2 separate regions of the Homo sapiens genome follow, and region 2 is linked to region 1. The links are contacts of gene promoters, found by promoter capture Hi-C in blood cells and fetal thymus (Javierre and others, 2016). All regions are on one chromosome and are shown on one strand. Each heading gives the region's core, a stretch centred on a gene start or on the middle of the fragment in contact. The rest is flanking DNA. Distances are from core to core; before and after follow the strand shown.

Region 1 (2,700 bases), core at 75-2,574:
CACCCAGGGTCCCAGCTTCAGTCTTAGCTCTCAGAGCCTTAACCTCAGCTGAACTTCCCTGGTAAGCGAGCCCTGTGGCTCTAGGACCACTTGGGGCTGGCCAAAGCATGGTGGGGAGGAGGATGACTCAATGGCAGCCTGATTCAGGAAAGCCCCTCACCAGCCCTCGCCAGTCTGCACCCAGAGGATCCATTTCACGTGTCCTCCAAATCCTGGCTGATCCTGTTTCATTCTCTTGCTGGACACCCTTTCTGGGGCCCAGGAGTGCTGGGACACAGACATGGTCCCCATCACCAGAGAATCCTAGAACTCTCAGTGGAAGAAACCCCAAAGGTAACTGGTCCAGTCTCCTGCATTTGGATGGACTAGACAGAAATTCATGCTCAGAGCACCTAGGCACAGAGAGGGTGAGTAACTTCCCCAGGGTCACACAGTAAAGGAATGATCAGCTGCTCCTGAGCCACCTACCTGAACTCTCCTTTCTCCGCCTGGATGATTTCTTCTCTGTCTCATTGGCAGTGCTCCCAAGCACCCCGTAGTCATCGCCTGGGCCTCCTGTGGTGTCCACCAGGCCCAGGCTGCTGGTCCCCATTTCCTTGGAACCCCCTGCCGGGCCTGAGTTGGGCCTGCGCCGGGCGTCTGAGACAGGGAAGTGCCAGTTGGGGGACTGTGGGAAAGCGGGGTGCTGCTCAGTGAAGATGTGCTCCTCCTGGGGCAGGCTGTGTGGGGTGGCTGCCAGGCAGGAGGCTGAGAAGTCAGGGTACGCTGCCGTCGCTGTCGCCAGGAAGTCTGGTTTCTGGTGGAAGGAGAACGGGGTGGGCGGGTAGTGGGGTAGCCCTGAGGCCCCATTGCCTTCCGAGTGGGGGTTTCGAAGGCAGCCCCAGACAGGGGCTGGGGGCTGGAGGCTCCTCATGCAGCTGCTGGCCGCGGGATCCATCTGCTGTCCGCTGCACGCCTCGGTCCTTTCAAAGATTTGATTCTTTATACTTTTTATGTTCAAATTTTTAAAAATGCAAAAGAAAAAAAACTAAATAGGAGGGAAAAATGTTCAACAGAAAATTTACCCCAGGAACCAAAAAAAAAAAAAAACCCAAAACTAAAGTCTCTCCTTAAAGTACACACACATGTGGCCAGCTACTCCTATGTGTGTGCACACACCTATGTCGGGCTTGCTCCTGCCCCTCCAATGCACCAGCCTACCTACTGGGATCCCCTGTATGTGTATTTGTCGCCAATGACACTAAACATTTTCACTGTCCCAACCCAGACGCACCAGCTGACGAGGAGTTCGTCCTGGAGCCCAGAGCAAATGCCTGCAGAGGGCTGGACCAGGGCTGCTGGGACACACTTTTAAATCCTGCGGTGGGGAGAGAGTGACAAATTTCTGAAGTGAAATGTGAGAGAGGAGAGGGAGGGGTTAACCCACACACACAAGATCCCCTCCAACCAAAACCCTAGCAGGCAACTATTAATCATCAGAAACCTTATATGCACATCTAATGGGATTTGCAGATGGAGACTTTTAAAGAAACATTGTCTGTATTTTTTTTTTAAGGAAAGAGAGCAGCACACACACACATACACACACACCGTCTTTAATGTGCCTCCTGTAACACTATGAAGTTATTTTTATTGCACTGTTAACAAAATTCCCCAAGTCTTGGATTTAGAAAAAGCCTTAAGTCAGATCCAGAATCCATCAAATGCCAAATTCCAGGGAGTGAAGTGAGGAATAAGAGCAAGAGACAAGCTTGGTGATTGCATTTGATTTAAAGGCCCTTCTACTGCTGCCTGCGAAAAAGGAAGGTGGATTAAAAGAAATCTTTTTTGCAAGTCTCAGCGGCCCACTGTGGTCTGCAGTACAAAGAAAGGCACACTCTAGAAAAAAAGAATTTCTCTCTGCCCAGAGTGACATTCTCACTTTCTCAGTAACTTAAAAAAACAATCAGATTCTTCCTTCCGCTCTTTAACCTCCAACATACATGCCAATTAGCCACACTCTTCTCTAGAGAGGTTTCAAGTCATTTTTCTTCACAGCAATGGCAAGGCTCTTAAATAAGGTCCTTGAAGTTTCTTCGGGTCTCCTCCCACCTGCTCCCTGCCCCCTTCACCTCCACCCACCTGCTTCCCTTTCTCATCCCCCAGAGGCGGAGGCTTCCGAGGAATTTGGGGTAGGGAAATAGGAATCAGGGGCTCCTCATTCCCCAAAGGAGCCTCTTTGGCAAGCAGGCACGTGGGTCTCCGGGCTGGTGCACATCACAGGGCAGCCAGCCCAAGTGCCATCTTGATGCCCAGTCTTCCTCATGGCTGCGCCCTGCTGGTCTCTCAGAGGGTTAATGCAATTTCTTGGAGGACGACATTCCTAACACCCAGGGGCCAGAACTCCTTCCCCACTGGTTATTCCCATGGCCCAGAGCAGCAGGATGGGGGCAGAAACAGGCATGGACCTTAACAGCAGCGTCTCTGCTGGCTGCTTCCAAAGACGGCGAGGGTTCCCTGAGGAGGGGCCCCTAGGTCTTAGCTCTGCAGCCTGGAGGTGGGGCCCTGGGGGGTGGGTGCAGGAGATGCTCCTAGGAGGAGCCGAAGGGCACCCAGGGATGTGGAATGAAGCCACGACTGGCCTTTAATCCAGAAACTCCAGTCAGATACACATCCTGGGAGCAGGAGCAGCTGTAAAAGATGGGGAGGGGTGTACATATG
Region 2 (2,700 bases), core at 177-2,676, 100 kb after region 1:
AATAACACCTTGCGAAACTATAGGACAATATCACAACTAGGATATTGATATTGACACAATTTACCAATCTTACCCACATCTCCCGTGGTTTAACCTCTACTGTGTGCGTGCACACGCATTCACGTGTGTGTATACTTAGTTCTATGCAATCTTGTCACGGGTAAATTTGGGGATCCACCACAGTCAAGATAAAGCACAGCTCTGTGACCACAAGTCTTTCTCCTGTTGCCCACCTCCTTCCCTCCTTTTCCCTCCCTCCCACAACTAACCCCTGGCAACTACTCATCTAATCTCCATTTCTGTCATTTTTTTTTTTCACTTCAAAATTGTTACATAAATGCGGCCAGGTGCGGTGGCTCACTCATGTAATCCCAGCACTTTGGGAAGCCAAGGCAGGCAGATCACTTGAGGTCAGGAGTTCGAGACCAGCCTGGCCAACATGGCGAAACCCTGTCTCTACTAAAAATACAAAAATTAGCTGGGCATGGTGGCACGCACCTGTAATCCCAGCTACTTGGGAAGCTAAGGCAAGAGAATCGCTTGAACTCAGGAGGCGGAAGTTGCAGTGAGCTGAGATCGCGCCACTGTGCTCCAGCCTGGGTGACAGAGTGAGACTGTCTCAAAAAAAAAAAAAAAGGTTATATAAATGGAATCAATTAGTATGTAGCCTTTGGGGATTTTTTTTTCACTCAGCATTATTTCCATTATCCAAGTTGTACATATCAGTAACATGTTCCTTTTTCTTTTCTTTTTTTTTTTTTTGGCTGAGTAGTATTCCACAAAGTTTAAAAAAACAAAACAAAACTTTAGAGTTATTTCTGGAAGTGAATGCTGTGTCTGAGGGAGTGTGAAGAGTTTGGTGGTCTGATGAGGGTATTGCAGGGCTGTTTTCCAGAAAAAGCCCAGTCCCCGCCCTCACCTGCAAAATAGAGGCTCCCATAGGTGGTACTTTGATGAGGCTGCCGTAACTAAGTACCACAAATTGGGTGGCATAAACAACAGAAGTCGTCTCACAGAGCTGGAGGTTAGGAGTGCAAGTTCAAGACATTGGCAGAGTTGGTTCCTTCGAGGACAGCGAGGAAGGCCTTTTACCTGCCTTCTGCTGGCTGCTGACAAGCTGTGGCATTCACTGGCTTGCAGAAGTGTCACCCCCAATCCCTGCCTTCATCTTCACATGGTGTTCTCTCTGTGTTCGAATTTTCCCTTTTTTCTAAGGAGGTCAGGCATATTAGATTAGGCCCAGCCTAATGACCTCATCTTAACGAGTTACATCTGTAATAGCCCTATTTCCAAATAAGGTCACATTCTCAGGTACTGTGACTTAGGACTTCAATATATGCATTTGGGAGGAATGCAGTTCAACCCATAAATAAGACTGTCAACACTGGGTTTGGGATGTTGATTTTTTTTTTTTTTTTTTTTTTTTTTTTTGAGACAGAGTCTCGCTCTGTCACCCAGGCGGGAGTGCAGTGGTGTGATCTTGGCTCATATAACCTCCACCTCCTGGGTTCAAGCAGTTCTCCTGCCTCAGCCTCCCGAGTAGCTAGGACTACAGACTCCCGCCACCACACCCAGCTAATTTTTGCATTTTTTTTATTTGTTTTGTAGAGATGGGGTTTCGCCATGTCGGCCAGGCTGGTCTTGAACTCCTGACATCAGGTGTTCCCACAATCCCATAAAGTGCTGGGATTGCAGGCGGGAGCCACCGCACCCAGCCGATTTTTTTAAACATTGAATTTAACAGTTGAAACTTAATTTCCAGAAAAGCTGCTTTTCCATGTGATTATTTACCAGCTTTTGTTTCTGTCGAGTTGCTTCTTCCGATGTTCACTCGCCAAACGTTTAATAAAGCAAGGGGGACACGCACTCCCTCTCCAGGAGCTCGCATACCATGGAAGAAATAATTTCCGCATCCAAACAACTCCACTACCAGATGGAAGGTGATCAATGCCACTGAAAAAAAGGTTCAGATGCTTTTTTCTAAAAAAAACTTTATTTTTTTTCTGGAGCACTTTTAGGTTCACAGCAAAACTGAGTGGATGGTACAGAGATTTCTCATTTATGTCCTGTGCCCACACATGTACAGCTGCCCCCGTTATCAACATCCCGCCACCAGAGTGGTGCATTTGCTATGATTGATGAGCCTACATGACACATCATTATCACCTGAAGTCCATGGTTTACATCACAGCACTAGTGTTGTACATCCTATGGCTTTGGACAAATGTATAATGACATACATCTACCATTATAGTATCATACAGATGGGCAGTATTTTCATTGTCCAAAAAAACTATCTGCTCTGCCTATTCATCCCTCCCCGACTTTCCCCAACCCCTGGCAACCACTGATCTTTTTACTGTACCTTTATTTTTGCCTTTTCCAGGATGTCATATAGAGTTGGAATATACCCATACATAGTCTTTTCAGATTGGCTTCTTTCAGTTAGTAATATTCATTTGGGGTTCCTCCATGTCTTTTCATGGCATGAACAGCTTATTTTTTTTTTTTAGCACTGAGTAATACTCCATCGTCTTGATGTATCACGGTTTATCTAGTCACCTACTGTCATCTACTGAAGGACATCTTGGTTGCTTTCAAGCTCTGGCAATTATTAATAGAGGTGGTATAAACATTTTGTACAGGTTTTTTGTTTTGTTTTGTCTTAAGACGGAGTCTTACTCTGTCTCCCAGGCTGGG

The links. Contacts are between HindIII fragments. The CHiCAGO score rates a contact against its expected background, and 5 or more counts as called.
Region 2: a fragment that was not itself captured here is called in contact with the fragment with the promoter of MEOX1 in region 1 in 1 of 17 cell types (megakaryocytes); the score reaches 5.7 in megakaryocytes.

Annotation. Positions count from the first base shown.
Region 1 is chr17:43,660,598-43,663,297 of GRCh38, forward strand. MEOX1 (mesenchyme homeobox 1) reads right to left here and starts at 1,325. Exons shown (of 3, transcript NM_004527.4): 1 at 469-1,325. The coding sequence starts at 937. RefSeq lists an enhancer at 78-619. The HindIII fragment of the contact is 18,347 bases long and covers 1-1,748 here.
Region 2 is chr17:43,761,613-43,764,312 of GRCh38, forward strand. No RefSeq gene overlaps it. Among named protein-coding and RNA genes, the nearest start is that of SOST, 4.2 kb to the left of the region's middle. The HindIII fragment of the contact is 6,558 bases long and covers 1-2,700 here.